Regions from separate parts of the Homo sapiens genome. Here regions 1 and 3 are each linked to region 2. The links are contacts of gene promoters, found by promoter capture Hi-C in human tissues and cell types (Jung and others, 2019). All regions are on one chromosome and are shown on one strand. The core of a region is centred on a gene start or on the middle of the fragment in contact, and the rest is flanking DNA. Distances in the headings are between cores, read along the strand shown. Region 1 overlaps INPP5K (inositol polyphosphate-5-phosphatase K). Region 2 holds the start of TLCD2 (TLC domain containing 2). Region 3 has its middle 74 kb from the start of RPA1.

Region 1 (3,060 bases), core at 197-2,696, 210 kb before region 2:
AAATTAGCCAGGCATGGTGGCGGGTGCCTGTAATCCTAGCTATTCAGGAGGCTGAGGCAGGCGAGAATCACTTGAGCCCAGGAGGCGGACGTTGCAGTGAGCCAAGATCATGCCATTGCACTCCAGCCTGGGTGACAAGAAGAAAACTCTGTCTCGAAAAAAATAAAACACTTTGTCTGGGCTCACAGTGGCAACTATAACAAAACTCCAGTGTAACCCCGGACTTTAGCAGGATTCCCGCCCTGCCCTCAGCCCTTTTGCCCTCCCTATAAGGGAGCTGGCCTCGTTTCTCATTACATCTTGGCTCAGGGACACCGTAGTGGCTGGCCCAGCACACTAACGCTCACAGTCACTTCATCAAACCGGCCCCCTCCAGGTTCCTCTCGTCAGTGTGCTGACTGATTGGAAAGCCCGCCTTTCTGCTTTCTGCGAAACTCTGTGCCTCCTTCAAGATACTGTCCTTGACAGGAAGTCTGACAGGCCTCTCCTAGCTTTAGCTGTTCACCTCCTTAACATTTGCTCCAACCTTCTGCACGGAGTTCTGGAAACCTTCTATTGACTAACTCCCAGGCTTGGTAACATATGCCAGGTACTGTGCTACTCCCAGGGATGGTCCTAAATCAGATCGTCTCTGCTCTCTGGGCAATCACAGTACAGTAAGAAAGGTACGCTGTGTCTCAAAAGCAACACTGAAAGCATGGCATGCGCAAGGCTGGGGGTGGCACAAGGCAGGAGAGGAACTCTCAGTGAGATGAGGAGGGGCCGGGAAGGCGTCCTAGGAGAAGTGATGTCTCAACTGGGTTTCCAAGGATAAAATAACAGTGTCATTAGACAGGAATATCTGTTCCCCAGGTGGGCTCAGGCCCTGCTCACTGCAAAACTCCCAGCTGCCCCTGGATCCTGGCCCCAGCCAGGAGTATTTCAGTTACCATGTCCCCTGTTCCCGCCCAGACAGTCTTGCATTTCCTGGGCTCCAGCCAAAGGGAAGCAGTACCGAAGGCTCATGAGTCTACAGACACAGATATGAGTTCCAATCCTCGTGCGATGAAGAAGCCTGTTACTCCTTACTTATATATTCTTTGAGACTCAGTTGCTTTCCTTGTAAACAGGCAATAATAACACTGTTTACCTAACGAGGACATGGTAGGAACTGATACAGGCAAAGCCTTGGCGCACACCTGCACGCCAATCACAATGAGCTGTTATTTGGAAATAGGTGCGTGCCTCCTCCTTAGCGGGAGTCTGCCTTCCTCACCGTGCCATCCTTTTTCCTCTTGCTGGCAAGGATGACCATGAATCCTGAGGTACGATGGGCTTGAGGAAAGTACTGTGGGCTACAGACTCAGAGATCAGTCTCAGCCCCAGCTCTGCCACTCACTGGCTGAGCTACCTGGGGAAGCCCTTGAACTTCTCCAAAGCTCTCTACCCTTTCTGACCCTGCCAACTCCAGCCCAGATCCAGCTTTTGCAACAAACTTCAGTCTCCTGGAGGTCTCTCTGCCATAGGGCTGGGAGAAGGGGACGCCTGGCCGTAGGGCCTGCCAGCAGCTCTCTTCCTGCTGGTAAGTTTTTAAAGAGGATTTTTTTTTTTGGAGACAGGGTTGCCCAGCTGGAGTGCAGTGAGTCAATCTCAGCTCACTGCAGCCTTTAACTCCTGGGCTCAAGTGATCCTCCTGCCTCAGCTTTCCTGAGTAGCTGGGACTACAGGCACATGCCACTACACCCAGCTAATTTTTAAATTTTCGTAGAGACGGGGTCTAACTATGTTGCCCAGGCAGGTCTTGAACTCCTGGCTTCAAGCACCCCCTCCCCACCCAAGGCCCTACCCTGTCCTTACAGCTCCCACCAGGACTCTTGTTTCCAATGGATGGCTGCAGAGACTGGCAGTCTCCCTGCAGCTGTTGATCTGGGCCGGCCATCCTGCTGCAGCCTGGCCTCTTACCTCCTTTCCTGCCTGCTCTGTTGCCCAGGGCGGGTCCCTTCCCCAGCGTCCACTGCCTCCTCTTCTGTGGACGGCCCTGCTCACGACCCTACCCTGTCTTGCTCCACACTGCTGAATCGGCTCACTCTTTCCCCCTTTCCTTGACAAGGATATTTTGGCTTTGCTGTAACACTTCCAGAACCAAGCTTGAGTTCTACCTCTTGTCTTGGTCTGGCTGTGGAGATATTTCTTCCCTGGCTAAATCCCAAAGCCCTGGGCTGCCCTGCCGGTACCTCCCGCCTCCCTCACAGAGACACTCCAGCTAGGAGGAATGAACAAGCTGCTCCCGCTGGAACAAAGACCCTCATGACATGTAAGGGGCTCTTCTTTTCTTCAAAGAGATTAGGTTCCTTGCCCCAAAATGAGTCAGGGACATGTTGCCAGTGGTTCTTTCTCAGGTTTTGGTGGTTATTTGGCCCCTTCTCAGCTTCTTAGAAAGGTTTTTAGTAAATCTATCACGGGAAGACATGAATCTATTTATTTTATTATTATTTTTTTGAGACGGAGTCTCGCTCTGTCACCCAGGCTGGAGTGCAGCGGTGAGATCTCGGCTCACGGCAACCTCTGCCTCTTGGGTTCAAGCAATTCTCCTGCCTCAGCTTCCTGAGTAGCTGGGATTACAGGTGCGCGCTACCATGCCCAGCTAATTTTTGAATTTTTAGTAGAGATGGGGTTTTACCATGTTGGTCAGGCTGGTCTCAAACTCCTGACCTTCAGTGATCCACCTGCCTCGGCCCTCCCAAAGTGCTGGGATTACAGGTGTGAGCCACCGCGCCCAGCCGGCATGAATCGAAAAGTCACAATAGCCGTTCTCTCCCATGGTTACTGGGTGACGGCCTCCTTCAGTCCTCAGCCTCATGAGGTGTGTGCTCTTCTCATCCACACCTTATAGCTGACAAAATCAAGGCCTAAACGCTTTGGCTAAAATAAGACAGAGCCGTGCTTCTAACTACCAGACTCATGATCTCTACACTGATCCTGATGAAACTCTCTACCTACTACTTCACCTTCTCACACAAGACCTGACCCATTCACAGGCTGGGGCAGGCGTCCTTAATACCAGTAACTGGCTGGGCCAAG
Region 2 (2,936 bases), core at 437-2,936:
GTCAGGATGGTCTCGATCTCCTGACCTCGTGATCCACCCGCCTCGGCCTCCCAGTGTGCTGGGATTATAGGCATAAGCCACCGTGCCTGGCCTAGGGCTTTCATGCCCCATACCCACACCCTATACCAGGACACCCCCTTCTCAGAAAAGCTCCATATTCCACATTTCTGTGATCAGCTGGACACCTGTGGGGGCACCCAAACTCCTTAGGCTCACATGGTGGGTGCCCTGGCATGGTGGGTGCCCTTGTATGGTGAGTGCCCTGGCATGGTAGGTGCCCTGGCCTGGTGGGTATCTGGACTCCCCAGCTGTGGCCAGCAGCCACCTCCTCCCCCTAACTCAGCCTAAGACTGGGAGCCAAGCACCAGCTGGGGGCAGAGACTGTGGGAAATTATAGGACAGCAAAATGAAGAGAGGGCCGGGGGCGGTGGCTCATGCTTGTAATCCCAGCACTTTGGAAGGCTGAAGTGGGCGGATCACCTGAGGTCAGAAGTTCGAGACCAGCCTGGCCAACATGGAGAAACCCCGTCTTTACTAAAAATACAAAAAATTACTTGGGCGTGGTGGCGGGTGCCTGTAATCCCAGCTACGTGGGAGGCTGAGGCAGGAGAATTGCTTGAACCCAGGAGGCGAAGGTTGCAGTGAACAGAGGCCGAACCACTGGACCCCAGCCTGGGTGACAGAGTGAGACTCCGTCTCAAAAAAAAAAAAAAAAAAAAAAAAAAAGAATGAGGAGAGACTGGGAACCTCGGGCTGGACAGGGCTCCCCTCCTCCCTTCCTGTCTGGCTTCTGCCCTCAGAGTCTCACCACCAAATGATGACAGAGAAGATCCCAGGTCTTGCCCAAGGTCTGGTTCCACAGCAGGTCAGCTCCGTCTGCCAGGAAGTAACCTGTGGGCATGGGGGTAGGGGTTAGGCTGCTCCAGAGCCCGGGCAGCTTAGAGAGGATTTCCAGCCCCCCCGCCCCGCCCCTCTCCCAGTTCTTAGTTTTCCCTTGGTAAAGCCTTCAGGAACGTTTAACCCCCATGGGGGCGGGGAATGGACCTGGAAGGACAGCAGAACCTGCCCCCCGCCCCATCCCCACCACCGGCCCAGCCTTCCCTGCAGACTCACCCACAGACACAGCCACCAGCACCAGAGCCCAGCGCGGGTGGCCATGGATGGGGTCGGCGGCCATCTGAGGGTACAGTGACAGGCTGGGGGCATGGGGTGGGGACATGGGGGGGGGCATGGTCAGCCTCTCGAGGCCCCGGCCGCAGTCTCCCTGTGCGCACCCCCACCCCAGTCTCAGCTCTGGAGACGCCCGGCGGGTCTCCCGGCCTCAGCCTCCCACCCCTCGCCCTCGCCCCGTGCGCCTCGAGCCCCCAAGCCCGCACCCGAGCAGCGCCCCGGTCCCCGAGAGCAGGCTGTGCGCCAGGGAGACGCAGAGGTTCCACCACTGCCAGCGGTCCCGAGCGGCCGATTCCGGCGTGGGCAGCCGCCGCAACCCCCAGTGCAGCCCCCGGAACGCGAGGAAGGAGGCGCCGGCCACCAGGAGCCCCGTGGGCGCCATGGCCTGGCGGTTGGGGGGTTGCGGGGAGTCCGGGTCGGTCCCCTCGGCGCCCGCGCTCTCGGCCGGGACTGGGAACCCGTTTCCCGGCAGGGCTGGGGCCCCGGCTCCCCTCCCCGCCGCGCCTTTGGGATCAGCAGGAACTTTTCCCCGTTCGTCCACGCCCAGTCCCTCGCCTGGGCGGTGATTGGAGCAGCCGCGGGGCCGCCGCCCCCGGAGCCTTGGCCACCGATTGCGTCTTGCTCCAGCCGGGGGAGCGGTTCGGGGGCTCCGGGCAGTAGACCATGCCCTGGAGCTCGGGGGGCCTCCGGGATGTTCGCCAATAGGGGTCCTCCCCAGCTCCAAGCGTCCTGAAGCGCTGGAGTTGCAGACCTGGGTCTCCAGTCTAACCTCAACTGACACTCCCGGGCCCCACCCACGAACCTTGACCTCTTCCCGGCTCCCGCGACTTTCACCTGCTGAGCGTCATCACCACCCACCGCCACACCCTGCAAGGCAGAGGCTAGCGCAGCCCACTCGTACCTGCCCGAGCCTGGCCGCCGCCCCCACTTCCCTCCCCGCGTCCGTGGTGGGGACGGGGTGCCCCACTTTCTTGGAGCCACCCCTTCGGCCTCCTGAGGTTTCCACGCCTTTACCATATCCCGGCAAACCTGTAATTCCAGCAGTTCTGCTCCCCCTCCCCCACAACCCCCAGGAGACCCCATGTTGGAGAAGCGACCCACTGGGCCCCGCCCCGACCCCCAGCATTGTTTTCGGCCCTACGGAGGAGCCTCATTAGGAAGAGGACGCAAAAGGGAATCGCTGGCCCCCAGTCTTGAAAAGCACTTCCTTCCCCAAGGGCTTGGTACCCGTTGGGTGGGTAGAATATCTTCAATCCGAGGGCAAGGAAAGGTAACACAGGGTCCCTTCAAGGCTGGGACAGAGTCAGAAGAGAAAAACAGACCTGTCCTGCTCTTAGTAGCAGGGCGGTTAGGATTCCAGAACCCTCCAGCCTTAAGAGGAAGAGCCTCCCCCAGCCCCTCACCACCTGAAGAGCCCCAGGTTGCACTGCTTTCCTTCCACCTTACTCCACTCCACCTCTTCAGCTGGCAGACAGTCAGCAAGTCAGAGCTGTTTCCTGCAGGCTGAGAGGGAGGATTCCAGCTACTTCAAAGAATTAAGTTCATAAACCAAGAGGTGCCCCAACCAAACCTTCTCACCAAAAAGCTGAGGTCTTCCCTTCATTCTTCTACCCCCACCTCTCCAAAGGTTTAAATAATAACACTGATCTCTTAAATTATATTATATGAAATACAAAATGTGGAAAATTTGGAAATTACAGAAAAACCAAAGATGAAAATTACAGTGACTTTGTTCCACCATACAAAGATAACCACTCAACATTTTT
Region 3 (3,320 bases), core at 154-2,653, 190 kb after region 2:
GAGCCAAGATCACACCATGGCACTCCAGCCTGAGCGACTGAGGGAGACTCCATCTCAAAACAAAAAAATCACAAACATAATTAAAAGATTTACTAATCATTAATAGCTTTAGATAAATAATTTTAAGTGGTGTTTGGCTCTTTGGATGTGTTTTCAGCCAATTCACTCTTGCAGGATGCTTATACTTTTTCTAATTGTTATAAATTCAAGATTTCACGAGCAGAAGCGTTTATGCTTTGTGGCACTGACAATCCATGCCTTTTCTTGTTCTGTTAGGTTCTCTCATTGATTTTTCTTTGCCTAAGTCCAGGGATAACTCCTCTAACCCTGTGTACCACCAAGGGCTGGTAGGTAATTTGAGCAGGTCCTTCCTTGGAAGCAGGTAGATTAATGTAGGGAGGGGAGGGAAAAAGAAGGCTTTGGAGCCCTGGTTTCATCCTGCCTACTACACAGACGGGGGCTGTGCCTATGAAGAGGCGAAACTCTTGTTTCCCACCACCCTGGCAAAGAAGGCCTCTTGAGAATACATTTGACTTGCCTATAAATCAACCTGATTATCTAAAGCTATTAATGATTATTAAGTCTTGTAATTATATTTGTAATGATGGTTTTGAAAAGTCATTGAGAAAAGTATGTAGCCACTCGTCTTCATGGTTCCAGCCTGTCAGTATGTGACTTTATTTTTTGAGATGGAGTCTCTGTCGCCCAGGCTGGAGTGCAGTGGTGCGATCTCGGCTCACTGCAACCACCACCTCCTGGGTTTAAGTGATTCTCCTGCCTCAGCCTCTTGAGTAGCTGGGACTACTGCACGCCCAGCTGATTTTTTGGGGTCTTTTTGTTTGTTTGTTTGTTTGTTTTTTAGACGGAGTTTCACTCTTACCCAGGCTAGAGTGCAGTGGCACAATCTCGGCTCACTGCAACCTCTGCCTCCCAAGTTCAAGCAATCCTCCTGCCTCAGCCTCCCAAATAGCTGGGACTACAGGCGCCCGCCACCATGCCCAGCTTATTTTTTGTATTTTTAGTAGAGACGGGGTTTCACCGTGTTAGCCAGGATGGTCTCAATCTCCTGATCTCGTGATCTGCCCGCCTCTGCCTCCCAAAGTGCTGGGATTACAGGCGTGAGCCACCACGCCCAGCCTTAGTATGTGACTTTTTTTTTTTTTTTTTTTTTTTTTGAGATGGAGTTTCGCTCTTGTTGCCCAGGCTGGAGTGCAATGGCGTGATCTTGGCTCACTGCAAACTCTGCCTCCCAGGTTCAAGCAATTCTCCTGCCTCAGGCTCCCGAGTAGCTGGGATTTACAGGTATATGCCACCGCGCCCAGCTAATTTTCTATTTTTAGTAGAGACCATGTTGGTCAGGCTGGTCTCAAACTCTCGACCTCAGGTGATCCGCCCACCTTGGTCTCCCAAGGTGCTGGGATTACAGGCGTGAGCCACCGCGCCCAGCCAGTGTGTGACTTAAAGATATCTGTCCCTGAGAGCTATGGACTATTTAGAGCAAGGCTTGGGGGCTAAGTAGTCATATCACAGTGATATTAAAATGCAGTTGAGGGGGAAATTGCTGGAAGACTGGAGTCAATCAGGAAAGACTTCACAAAGAATTGGGTGATTTGAGACTCACTGATTAGAGCCTTCATTTAGGTCGGGGCTGTCCGGTCTGTATGAGGCAGACCGAGAGCAACACTGGTAACAGTGGCATGCGCTGTGTTCGTCACTGACACGAAGCCACGCGGTGCCACGGAGGCTGGGTAGAGGTACTGAACGGAAATGGGTTCCTGGTGCAAATAGGACAGTGTTTGACTATGGGCTGAGTGAAAGTTTCTTTTTTTTTTTTTTAATTTTTTATTTTTTTGAGATGGAGTCTCTCTCTGTTGCCCAGGCTGGAGTGCAATGGCACGATCTCGGCTCACTGCAACCTCCACCTCCCAGGTTCAAGCGATTCTTCTGCCTCAGCCTCCCGAGTAGCTGGGATTATACAGGCGTGTGTCACCACATCTGGATAATTTCTGTATTTCTAGTAGAGACAGGGTTTCACCATGTTGGCCAGGCTAATCTCGAACTCCCGACCTCAGGTGATCCGGCCTCCTCGGCCTCCCAAAGTGCTGGGATTACGGGCGTGAGACACTGTGCCCGGCCAGTAAGAGGTTCTTGTGTTATCCATTGCCATACCCCTAACCTGCATTGGGTTTGTCGTGACAGTGTCTGACTTGCCAGTGAGCTCGTGGGTGTTTGTGAGAGGCTTTGAACCAGCCACCTGGCTGCATTTGCAGCTTCTCAGGCTCTTAGTAGCTGTCGCTTTACACCCTCTCCTTAGCTGTTGATGAGTCTCAAAATGTATACTTTTCAATAAAACAAATCTTTTTTTCAGCCTTGAATAGACCCTGTGAAAAACTGAATCCCACCTGCCTCGTGAGAAATATTTATATAGCCAACTCAGAAGTGATCGTGTAAACTTTTAATAATTGCGAGCCGTTCTTATAAAATTATGCCCGTTCCCTAGTGCATTACCCAGTTGGTAATTGGAAGTTTGTGCTGTCATTAAAAATGACAGCTTCCTCAGATAACATTCTCGGTGCTTGTAAAATGCAAATAACCAAACCTATATTTAACTTATGTGTGTTGCAGCTTCCTTTCAACGGCCAGGTAACCTAGGGGGCTGGTGCCTGTTAAAGAGGAGGGCTTGCCGCGGGGAACTGCAGCTTTGTGCTCTTCAATGCCCAGCCCTGAAATGGAGTTAGAACAGGCAGGACTTTTTAAAAATAAGCCCCAGTTGGACTCTCATCTCCTCTCACCGTTGACACTGCTGTTCATGTTGAAGTTTATTTATATCTTCAGTCAGCCATGGTACAGAGGTCATTTCCATTGGCCTAAAATTTTAGAGGCTTATATGTTTGCCTGGGAAAGCTGATCTCCTCAGCACTTAGGCTTGTAATGCAAAGCCTGTCTCTTGCAGAAGCTTTTCTGCTTCCATAACACGGCGACTCCCACCGTCACCACCACCACCAATTTCCTGCTCCACGATTTATTCAAAATCTGAATAGCTGTATAAGGTGCATCCCTGCAAATGAGCTCTCCTCCTCTAATGGGCTCTTTCCAGGCAGCAAACCTTTCACAAAGGAGCCACTAATTAAGCAAAAAACAGTTTGTCTTGCTTAGCCACGTTTCAGGAGTCCAGCAGTCAGTTTAGAAGACGGCAACATCCTTTACAGCCGTGATGGTAATAATATTCTTTTGTCTCATACCAGGGTCTCTAACTGGCAATTTGGGTGTCTGGGTGTGCGTGTGTCCCTGTTCTGTCTTGCTCTCCATCTTGAAGAGGA

The links. The method cuts DNA at HindIII sites, captures the fragments that hold promoters and counts their contacts. A contact is called where the count stands out against the background at its distance.
Region 1: a fragment that was not itself captured here is called in contact with the fragment with the promoter of TLCD2 in region 2 in 1 of the 25 tissues and cell types used here (dorsolateral prefrontal cortex).
Region 3: a fragment that was not itself captured here is called in contact with the fragment with the promoter of TLCD2 in region 2 in 1 of the 25 tissues and cell types used here (lymphoblastoid cells).

What each region holds. Positions count from the first base shown.
Region 1 is chr17:1,503,564-1,506,623 of GRCh38, forward strand. All of the region lies in intron 7 of INPP5K (inositol polyphosphate-5-phosphatase K), which reads right to left. Among named protein-coding and RNA genes, the nearest start is that of INPP5K, 12 kb to the right of the region's middle. The HindIII fragment of the contact is 5,924 bases long and covers 1-3,060 here.
Region 2 is chr17:1,708,691-1,711,626 of GRCh38, forward strand. TLCD2 (TLC domain containing 2) reads right to left here and starts at 1,687. Exons shown (of 4, transcript NM_001164407.2): 1 at 1,377-1,687; 2 at 1,114-1,196; 3 at 809-891. The coding sequence starts at 1,552. It overlaps MIR22HG (MIR22 host gene), which reads right to left. Exons shown (of 3, transcript NR_028505.2): 3 at 2,814-2,936. The HindIII fragment of the contact is 13,317 bases long and covers 1-2,936 here.
Region 3 is chr17:1,901,862-1,905,181 of GRCh38, forward strand. No RefSeq gene overlaps it. Among named protein-coding and RNA genes, the nearest start is that of RPA1, 74 kb to the left of the region's middle. RefSeq lists enhancers at 2,308-2,357, 2,438-2,487. The HindIII fragment of the contact is 8,308 bases long and covers 1-3,320 here.